Regions from separate parts of the Homo sapiens genome. Here region 2 is linked to region 1. Evidence: promoter capture Hi-C in 16 types of primary human blood cells and fetal thymus (Javierre and others, 2016). All regions are on one chromosome and are shown on one strand. The core of a region is centred on a gene start or on the middle of the fragment in contact, and the rest is flanking DNA. Distances in the headings are between cores, read along the strand shown.

The links. The method cuts DNA at HindIII sites, captures the fragments that hold promoters and counts their contacts. A CHiCAGO score of 5 or more calls a contact.
Region 2: a contact is called between the fragment with the promoter of RAMP1 here and the fragment with the promoter of ASB1 in region 1, in 4 of 17 cell types (naive B cells, total B cells, erythroblasts and 1 more). The highest score is 8.6, in naive B cells.

What each region holds. Positions count from the first base shown.
Region 1 is chr2:238,423,545-238,428,695 of GRCh38, forward strand. It overlaps ASB1 (ankyrin repeat and SOCS box containing 1), which reads left to right and starts at 3,383. Exons shown (of 5, transcript NM_001040445.3): 1 at 3,383-3,575. The coding sequence starts at 3,527. It overlaps LOC124908002 (a long non-coding RNA gene), which reads right to left and starts at 3,350. Exons shown (of 2, transcript XR_007088163.1): 1 at 1-3,350. RefSeq lists enhancers at 1,964-2,499, 4,012-4,131 and silencers at 2,832-3,221, 3,242-3,761. The HindIII fragment of the contact is 6,850 bases long and covers 1-5,141 here.
Region 2 is chr2:237,855,567-237,861,328 of GRCh38, forward strand. It overlaps RAMP1 (receptor activity modifying protein 1), which reads left to right and starts at 4,057. Exons shown (of 3, transcript NM_005855.4): 1 at 4,057-4,161. The coding sequence starts at 4,110. RefSeq lists enhancers at 1,869-2,657, 2,658-3,444. The HindIII fragment of the contact is 3,458 bases long and covers 2,136-5,593 here.

The sequences.
Region 1 (5,151 bases), core at 2,133-4,632:
GGGTGGGAGGCTGGAGGTGGGCGTGGCTCCACTCAGCAAAGCCATGCCATAGCGTTAGCAGCCATGGCACCGATGCCCACTGTGTCCTGAGGCTCTCTCTGCCCCAGGAAGCCTGTGGCACATTCTATGGGATTTTGTGTCTTTACAAAGCCTGCAAAGTGGGTATTATCAGCCCGATTTGACAGGGAGGCAGCTGGTGCTCAGAGGAGTCACCCTGTCCTGGTGACTCAGCTGGAAGGATGTGGATCTGCCTCCCTAGCTTGGGGCAGACACCCTGACTCTCTGCAGGTGGGCTCCAAGGCCTGAGACAGGGTCTGCGGGGCAGGGGCTGGTAAAGATGTTTCCAGGGCAAAGCCTGGAGGGTCAGCGGGCTGCCCTCATCTCGTGGCCTCACCTGGTAAACCTTCAGATCCCCTGCTTCCTTCAAAGCAGGAGATCCTTCAAAGGGGAAGAGAGGGCTGGGCCTCCTGGGAGGAGACACCCCAAACACAGGCCCACAGGGCCTAGGATCAGGAGAGATTCCCATTTCTGGTCCCTGCCTGGGTGACATCTGCTGCCCAATTCCCGGAGACAGCTGTGGGGGTTAAGCGACAGCAGCACCAGCACACCCAGGCCCAGCAGGATCCTCACCAGCCTGCAGCTGTGGAGCTCATGTTTCCAGCCCCCCATATACCTGCCATGCTTCCAGAGGGGCCCCCAGTTCCCTGCAACAGGAAGGATGAGGGATGGGGGCCCCTTCTCAGACCTCCTGAACCAGAAAGTCCATTGTTGGACATTTTTGTTATAAAATGATGGTAATGAGCACTACTGTAGCTGAATCTCCCCCACATCTGATTATTTCCCTAGAATGAATGCCTGGAAGAGGCATTTCTGATCAAGGATTATTCATTCTTATGCTTTAGCTAGACTGCCAAATTTTCCACCACAAAGACTGGGCTAGGCTCCACAGAGGGGTCACTGGGGACACTTTGGGGGAGGCCTGAGCCTCCAGGAGGCAACAGGAAGCGACGGGTGATTTTAGGGGTGGGAAAACGGGAGGGAGCCACTGGGACCTGGAGGGGCAAGACAGCCCACTGCACTGGTCCTGTTGCTGCTGTGCTGGGCTGGGATGGCACTGGTAGGCACTGGTAAATCCCTGTTGCTTGTAGGTGATGGGACCCAAGTTGCTTCATCTCTAGCGGTCACTGAGTGTCCCTGTGTTGGTGGGTCTTTTGGGCTCAGAGGACCTGGAAGAAGAGGGACTCTGGAGAGGTGAGGTCAGAGGGGGAGACAGGCTGTAGGGCTGGACAGTCTGGATGTGATCCCAACTCAGCCACCTGTGGGCTATGTGGTTTTGGGCATAGCACCAGGCCCCCAGATCTCAGGGTCCTGAGAAATGGGGGTGATGGTATTGGCAGAGTGGCCAGCAATTGAGTGTCCTTCCCCCTCCAGCACTGCTGGCTCTGTGGACACTGCCCTGCACCATGTGGGCATTTAGGAGGCACGGAGGTGGGCATGTGAGGCCACCTCCCCGCTACAGACCACGTGCGGCCTCAGGTTCTTCTAAGAGGCAGGATCCCAAGGGCAACACGTGGCAGGGAAGGTGGAGGTGCAGGTGCAGGAGGGCCACTCTGCTCAGGGACTCAATACCTTGATGCAAAGGCTACCGACACGCAGAACGCTCACTGTGAGCCCACCGGGACCAGGCAGGCAGAGCAGCGGAGGCCCCCGGAGACGTGGCTCTCACCAGGCTGCACTTTAGAATCACCTGGGTGCTCTGAACCACCCAACACCCAACCCGCACCCCTGACTGACTGCACCGGAACCTCTTTTAAAAAATTCTTTAAAACAATTGTGGTAAAATATATAGAACATAAAACTTAACCTGCTTTAAATGCGCAGTTCAGTACTGTTAATGCACAATTCACATTGCTGTGTGACCCGTCTCCAAAACTTTTTCATCTTCCTCAACTGAAGCTCTGTCCCCATGAAAAACTAACTCCTCATTCCCCACTCCCCCAGCCCTTGGCAACCCCCATTCCGCTCCACCATTTCACTGCTCCAGGGACCTCAAATAATTGGAATCACACAGTACTGTATTTGTCTTTTTGTGGCTGGCTTATCTCACTCAGCATAACGTCTTCAAGGTCATCCGTGTTGTGACGTGTGTCAGGATTCCCTTCCTTTCTAAGGCTGAGTACGAATCCATTGTATGGACGGACAGCATTTCCTTTCTAAGGCTGAGTACGATTCCATTGTATGGATGGACGGCATTTCGTTTATCCATTCATCCATCCAACAACACGTGAGGCGGCTTCAGGCTTCGGAGTTGCTGAAGCTCCGAGTTCGGGATGTGCAGCTGTGGTGGAGCCAGGGGCTGGGCACACCCCTGGCTCCTGGCCTGGCAGCGTCATCATCGGAGTCACCTGTCCCTCATGCCAGTGGTGCTCTCTGCTGTCATCAAGACCAAACACCACTGTAGGAAGTACCCCCACTCCCGCCTCCAACCCCCACAGGGCCTGCCAGGTCTGCCCCCAGTGGGCCCCCTGGTGCATCTGGGCCACCCAGGGCCAGCCTCAGCAGGGGCACTCGCGGGGCTGCGCCTGCGGCTTCCCTTACTCCAGTCTGGAATGTTGTACACACGGATGAGCCAGCAGCTCACGCCCACGACTGCTGGGGTCTCCGGACTCCCTCATCAGCCTCCTGCTGTGCTGTGTACAAATCCTCCTCCTGCATGAGGCCCCGCTGTCTAACTCAGCAGGGGAGAATGGGAGGAGCCAAGGGAATCCGTGCTTTAGGACCAACACCAATACTCATGGTGGGACGACGCTGCGATATTTGAAGTTGGGAGTGTGCAAGAAATGTTACTCGGTTGTTCACGAATGCATTCATTTATTCAATGAACTTCGCGTCAGCCACTGGCTGTCATCAGTTACCGACCTGATTGAGGGCTTCATGGAAGGGATTTGGAGGAGCATTCATCTAAAACCACAGCACGCTGCGACGCTCAGCCCTGCAGTGGGCCCTCACCAGTCCCCGCGCCTCCGAATCCACCCTCCCGGGGCTGCTCGTGGCTAGCGGGGGGCACCTGCGGGGACCAAGCCAGCCCGGCCGAGGCCCGGGTCCCGCCCGCCACGGCCCTCGGGGCCCCGCCCACATCTGGCAGAAGCCACGCCCCGTCCGTGTGGGTGGGGACGGCCCGCCGGACCGAAATTCCCAGACTGCTGCCTCAGGCAACGGGCTTTCCGACTCCTTGGCTTCTTATGTGAGGAAACCACAGCGCGGCCGGCATCCAGAGAGTCGGTTAGCCGCGAAGTTCCCGCCGGACGAAGGGACCAGCCAGCGCCCTGCTAGACAGCGAGGCCGGAAGCGGAGGCGTGGCCCCTGCGCGGCCCCGGAAACCAGTGAGGCCGGCGCGCGCCCGCCGGAAGCCGCGACCCCGACGCGCCCCCCATTGCCCTCGGCGCCGGAAGTGGTCGCGGGTCGTTCTGCTTCCTGCCCGAGGGGCGTGCGCGGGTCAGGGGCGGCCGCGGAGGCGGAAGCATCCATGGCGGAGGGCGGCAGCCCAGACGGGCGGGCAGGGCCGGGCTCCGCAGGTAACGTGCGCGCGGCCACTGGGCCGCGGGGCGTGTGGGGATGGCGAAGGGCTGGCTCCGGCGTCCCTGCCGAGGTCCTGCGTCCTCGTCCCGGGCTGGCCGGGTCCACGGGGCAGCCAGGGAGCCGCACCCTGCAGGCCGGGGGTGGGGTTCAGCGCGGCTCGCAGTGCTGGGCGACCCCACCACGGACGCGCTGCCCTCTCCTCGGCCTCGAGTGCAGTCCCCGCGCTAGATTTTCTTTCCGGTGGAACTTGCTCGTAACTTCCTTCCCGTTAGCCGATACAGATTTGATATGACCCAACCGCAAAAGTAGGACGTGGGCCACCTTCCAGCTCTGAGCGCACGGATCAGGAAAGCCAGCCAGAGGGTAGCCCTAGGGAGGGCAGGCACTTTTTCACCATTCTGCCGCCCACGGCGTGTCCGGTGGTACAGCGGGGGGCAGCCTTCCCACCCACCACAGGCACAGACCAGGGACAACGGGGACGCCGTCTCCAGCGAGCTCGTCAGTGACACAACATGTCCAGGGGCCTTTGGCCCACCAGCAAGGGAGGCAGATAGAAAGGCTCACACCCACCTTCCAAAATAACTGTCCTACTTAGGGTCTCCACCTTGCAGTGTCCCTACCATGCAGATGTGAAGGAAGCGGTCAGGACAGGTTCCCGTTTCCCGGTGGTGTGGTGGGAGTTCCTTCTTGCTGGATTTCTGAGCTTGCCATTCGCGCCAATAGTTTCGTGTGTTCTGGGCTTTCTTTACATGCCTATATTTGTCTTTGGAGGGGTTCCTCTCCTACTTAGTAATAAACCAATACATTTCTTAAACATCTTAAAAGATTGACTTGGAGACTGGTGCAGATAGGCTTTTCCATCCATCCCTCCCTCTGCACCTCCTTCCAATCATTTAACAGACTTGTATTGAAGACCTGCTGTTGGCTAGACCCAGCAGAGGATACTGCAGTGACCAGAAAAAGCCAGACAAAGCATCTACCATCCTGGGCTTTGGTTGGCGTTGACTTTGACTTCAGAGACAGCCAGGACCTTAGGGTCTAGGATGTCATCTCATGTGAGAGTGAGAGACGGAATGATGCGTGTTCCGTGGGAAAAAGAGGACCAACAGCTACTTCCCAGTATAAAGAGAGTTCCTGGGGAATAAACACTGGCTTTGTCGGCTGCACAGGTCTCCTTTTTTTTTGAGACGGAGTTTCGCTCTTGTTGCCCAGGGTGGAGTGCAGTGGCGTGATCTCGGCCCACTGCAGCCTCCGCCTCGGGGGTTCAAGCGATGCTCTGGCCTCAGCCTCCCTAGTAGCTGGGATTACAGGTGCTGGCATCATGCCCGGCTAATTTTTGTATTTTAGTAGAGACGGGGCTTCACCATATTGGCATATTGGCCAGGCTGATAGCGAACTCTAGACCTCAGGTGATCTGCCCGCCTCTGCCTCCCAAAGTGCTGGGATTACAGGCGGCAGCCACCACACTCAGCTGAGGGCTCCTTTTTATATCCTCATGCACTGCTGTTTTGTTATTCAGTGTGTTTCGGCCTCGGGTAGAGGGGCAACAGATTTTCAGTTGAAGCTTAAGTG
Region 2 (5,762 bases), core at 2,807-5,306, 570 kb before region 1:
ATTCTCCAAGTAATGCTGAGGACAGTTTTATATAGAATTTATTTTTCACTTCTTGTTTTTTGTTTGTTTTGTTTCTTGGGGGAATAGGGGAGATAGGCAACTTCTGTTCTCAGCTACTTGCAAGTGTGTTGGTTTTAACAGTGGGACTTCCTGCAGGACTTGAAAAATTGATAGTTGATGAACCTGAGTTCCCTGAGATACTGCTGTTTTTGTTAGTGTTTATCCAGCAATTGCACGATTTAAACAACTCACAGAACTAAGTTGTTATTGCTTATAAGCATGTTATCTTCAGAACCACTGATTCATTATTGATAATGATTGAAGTTCAGCCTTTAAATTGCAGGCCTGATAGTGAGGACACCAGTGGAGTCTTCCCCTTCATATCAGCAAGTTATTGAAAAACTATCTGTAGAATATTTGATGCTTTTTTCCTTCCAGTACTTAAAAACGTTCCATTGTATTCTGGTGGCATTATATCCCATGAGAACTCTTCTGTCACCCTTACCTGTGTTTTGTACATCAGCAGTCCCTAGCCTTTTTGGCACCAGGGACTGGTTTTGTGGAAGACAATTTTTCCATGGGGTGAGAGGGGGATGGTTTAGGGATGAAACGGTTCCACCTCAGATCATCATTCTCATAAGAAGTGCAACCTAGATCCCTTGCATGAACAGTTCACGGTAGGGTTAGATCAGCTACTGCTGATCTAACAAGATGCGGACCTCAGCTTCACTAGCTCACCCGCTGCTCACCTCCTGCTGTGAGGCCAGGTTCCTAACAGGCCATGATCTGGTACTCCTGTGGGGTTGGGGGACCCCTGCTATACGTAATGTCTTCTCTCTCTGGCTGCTTTTAAGGTTTTCTCTTTATTACTGGCTTTAGGCAATTTGATCGTGATGTGCTTTCACATATTTTTCTAAATGATTTTTGTGCTTGGAGTTTGGGGATGTTCTTGGCTCATGGGTTAATAGAAAATGTTCCACATAGTGGTTTTTCACATATTTCCCACCCATCTTCCTCCAGGGGCTCCAGTTACACCTTAGAGTTGCCACCTGGAGTTGCCTCATGGCTCTCTGATGCTTTGTTCTTTTATTGTTTTTAAGTTACGGGATGTAATAGCTACTTGGAAATCATTTGCTCCTGTTAGTTCTTGCTTTTAAGTTTTGTTAGGCAGCACCAGAATAGCCTTTGTAATTTTTACTGACTACAGAGAGGGACTTGCCCTTCTAATTATGCTCTGATGTTCTGTGTATTTCAAGATTTTTCCACTATGGTTGGTGGGAACTGGAACTATTCCCAGCTGGGTGTGGGCTCTTAGGCTCTTTTCCCTTGGGTAGTGTCCTTAGATGTGTGGGCTGAGACTCAAGTGGGACCCTCTGTGATCTCGCAAGCGCATTCTTTGCGCAGCTCTTTCCTCTCTGGTACTATGCCCTGCCAGCGTTAACTGCCTGGCTTCCCCAGACTCTCTTTGGGTTTCCTTTCTCCATCTGTGGTCTGCAAACTCCAGGCAGTGAGCAGTTGTAGCACTCACCTTATTTGTTTCCCTGCTCTCAGGGGTCCCTGCACTTCTTGTGGTCCACTGTGACAACTGTTGTTTCATACATTTTGTCCAGTTTTTTAGTTTAAGATGGGAAGGTGAGTCCAGTCCCTGTAACTTCATCTCGGCTGGAAGCAGGAATCTTATGTTAATAGTGAATTTTTAGCAGTGTTGACCAGGCTTTGATTGTATCTTTAGCCCTACTGTGTATGCAGTAAAGCACTTGGCCATTTTCTAATCTCTTCTATTGTTTAACCTAATGCCCCTCTAGATTGAGGTACCCTGGGAGAGGAATGATTTTCCATGCTACCTATGACCAATTAGAAATACAGATACATCAGACTACAACTTTTGAAGACGGGAAGCCCATAGTAGTTGCTAAGGAATGTCTTACTTAGACCCAAGGTACAGACAGGAAAATCATTAGGAGAGAACATGCCTCTAGGTGTGTGCCTTACTTCAGCATTCTCCAGAGAACTGTGAATTTCTAAAGCATGTGAACTTGAGAAATAGGCTTTGTCTTCTTAGGAAAATGTATCCTTTAGGGGGTGTTGAGAAAACAGCAGTGACAGGGGCCTCTGGCCTTGCCTCCTTGCAGTCAAGCTTCAAAGAGAAAACGTTGGGAAGAAAGACTCCTGCTGAGCCTGATGAAAGAGGAGTCCCAGTTGCCAACCAAAAACATGCAGCCAAAGTCCACAAGCTACAAGTAGAAAGGGTGGCTCAAGCCAGAGTCCCTGGATATGGAGGGCGAGTGATGGCTGCAGAAAGATGCAGGTTCTTCTCCCCCACTATGACTGGCCATCGCCTAGTGCAGGATGTACGGTGGCCCTGTCCCAGGGCTGTGCTGGCAGCCACCCTTCCCCACTAGCTGTGCTGCTCTCACATGGCACGGCCTCTGGCTGCCAGGCCTGTGCTCGGGCCTGCATTTCCCTTGTGCCCTTCTCTCCACCCAGCCCTCAGGACTGCCTGGGCTGCATTTTGTCCAGAATCCTTTGTCTCCTTACTTGCACTGCAGCTGAGGCGAGTGTCCCTTGTTCCGGGTGGCTCCTGTATTGTGGCGCTCATGTTATTGAGAGTCTTAGAGGTCACCCCCTAGATTCACCAATTGAAGGGCAGGGCTTGTCGATCTAACAGTGTCTTGCACATAGGGACACAAATGTCTGTTAAATGAAGAAAGTAGGGATGCCAGGCCACCCAATGGGGTGTATCTCCTAGGGTTCAAGAACAAGGGCTAATCAAGTCAAGAGAATGTGTGCCCTCCCCCACCATCTCACCCCTCACTCTCAGAACACTTGGGGCCCCTGCACAGGTGGTAGGCATGCTGGCCCTGAGTGCCCTCCCAGCCTGTGTTAGAAGAACCAGTGGATGACCTCGCTGTCAGCTGTCTCCCCTTCTCTGAGCTTACTGCAGGTGGCAGCAGCCTCTCAGCCACAGACTGTTCCCTTTCCTAGGAGAAAACGATGGTCACTCAGCAATGCTGTGCGCTTGCAGCTTCCACCACAAAAGAGACAGCTGTGGCCGCAGCACCAGGGTGGTGATTCTTCCCCCTCCAAGGGCAGTGGTGCATTCCTTAGCACAAGTATAAATTTACTGTTGCTAAGAGTTCTCGGAACAGGATAATACAAGAAGGAACCACTGCAAGTGAAATCCAGCCACCAGTAATGCCGAGAGGCCAGGCCTGTGCCTCCCAAAACCTGCTCCTCCGCAGGCTTCCCCGGCCCATCTCCAGAGCGCCCTCCTCTCACCACTTTACATAAACGAATGTACCCAAGATCCCCCATCAGTTTTCCATGCAGCTGCCAGAGTGCCACCAAAGCAAACCTCATCTCAAGACTCTGTGGCCAGGCCCTCACAACCTCCTGCCAGGCTCTCGCTACCTACCCATCAACAGCAAGACTCCCAGGCCATCTCAATCCCCCCAAAGAGCCCTGTTCCTCCAGCCCCACGGCTTCTGTTCACCTGCCGTGCTGTCCCCGCCTCTGCCCACCCACTCATCCTGCAGATCTGGAGCAGCATTCCAGGGCCTGGTAAGTGTGCGCCATTTTGGGTTACTACGGGTCTCGCCAGGCGCGGTGGCGAGTTTTGCCCCCCACGCTCCCCAGCGCCTGCACCTGGGCGGAGAGGTAGATAAGGCTGGGAGATCTTAGCCTTTTGCAAGGCAAACACCAGGCAGGAACGCCCAGAACCTCGGAGGAGGAGGAGGGGAAGATCCCCAGGTGGAGACCAAGGTGCCCCTCACGCTGAGTCGTCTAGGAGACCCTCCCTAGTTTAAAAAGTGTTTATTTGCTCGGAGAACATTTCAGGAGGCCTTCCTGGGACCCCAAGTGTGCCGCCCCCCGGGAGGGGCCTGGAGACGCCCGCGCGGCCCCCCTGCAAAGTTTTACCGGCCCTGGGCGCCCCCGGCCCTGGCACCCACGCGGGGAGCCGCAGTGGGCCGGGCCGCGCGGCCGCCGCCTCCCACCGCTCCCGCGCCCGCTCCCGCCCCCGGCGCGTCTCCTCCGGGCCCGCGCCGCGGCGGGCTCAGTCCTCAGCGGGGCGCGTGGCGAGCGGACTCGACTCGGCACCGCTGTGCACCATGGCCCGGGCCCTGTGCCGCCTCCCGCGGCGCGGCCTCTGGCTGCTCCTGGGTGAGTAGGTCCAGGGGTCCCGGCCGAGCTCCCTTCCCCTGGCCAGCCGGTGTCCTCTAGGGGAGAGGAGGGGAGCGGGTGGGAGCGGGTGGGAGCGGGTGGGGGCGGGCGCCGCGGGCGCACAGATCCGCTGCCCTTGAACGCGGGCCGCCCCGGTTCCAGGCGGGAGGCCCCAGGGCACAGGGGAGGCGGAGGGCGCGGACCGGTGTTGCGCTTCTCGCCGGGGAAGGGACGGCTTTGGGGACGTCGGAGAGCGGGCATTCTGGAAAGCGTGGGGTGAGTCAGCCCTGCACACTGGAGAACTAGTTTTCAGAAGGAAAAACAGGACGCGGGGTTCCCCAGCCCCGCACCTCGTTTCTCAGGCTGTGCGCCGCGGTGACTGCCAGCGCAGGCTCCCTTCCCTAGGCCGTCCCGCGTTGCAAAACCTGCAGACGGGCACCTTGCAGAAGACGCAGTGTTCGGGAATCAGAACCACAGCCGGTTTGTATGGAAATTAGTCAACACTGACAATCTGTCGCCTGCAGCAGTTGCTTGTTTGCAAATCACGTCTTTTGCAGAAATGAGGCCAGCCCTTTTCGGGACACTTCCATCGCTTTTTTTCTTTTTTCTTTTGGTTTGCTTGTTAACTTGGCACTTTTGGCTAATAGAAATTTAAAGAAGGACGGGTCCCTTGGTGAAGTGGTGGAACACGTTTGGCTTTCCACTTGGAGGGAGAAGTGGAGATTAGCGGCAGCCTCATGGCCACAGGAACTGGCCACACACTCGGCAAGAAACGGTGCTGTTCACTTCCCTTGTCTGTAATGTGTTCCTAAAATGCTAACTCAAGCCCCTTCTAAACCGCTTTGGCTATTGCATTATTCCGTGTATTTAGCTACCTTTTAACGGAAACTGTGAATAGGTTACTGGCGTGGGAGAACCCAGTGTCCCTGGGAAGGCCGGAGCAGTTGTTTCTGGTATGTGTGGCCTTTCCCCGGAAACAGTGATGTTGGTCAGAGGCACCTGCCGCACAAGACCTCTTTGGCGCTGGCACTGGGCAAGCAGGGACCACCGGCGCTGTTGTAGCTGGGGGAGTGGTTCGTGGCCCAGCGAGGAGAGGGGCCAGGGCTTCTTGGGAGCCATGGATTTCTGTTCCCTATTTGTAAACCTCTCCAAGGGGTGGCAGATCTGCATAGAATCCTCAGAGGCCGATATAATATAATCTGAAAGCGGATCTTGCCACTTTAGAGTTTTGGCTGAAGTTACGTGGAAAGCAGAATCTCGCAGTAATTTTATTCTCTCCATTTGGCTTGACATGGCCTTCACTGTTTTCATTTACTAAGAAACAAACATTTCTTTGTTAGCAAGGCAGAGAGCTGGGTTGTGGAATATTTTTTACATAAATAACCAAATAAATAAACGTTCTTTACTAGTGTCCAGAGGCTGAACCCTCTAAAGCTTGTGTAAATAAAACACTATGTCACGATCACATATAAAGACCTTCCTTGTTTACCGAGAAAACTATTCATGTTCTGCCGAAAGTCCAAAGTCCTGTAATTTTAACGTTATTTTGAGTGGCCTGGCTAATGTTATCTCTTGGAAGAACAAACAAAACTTTATGAGGT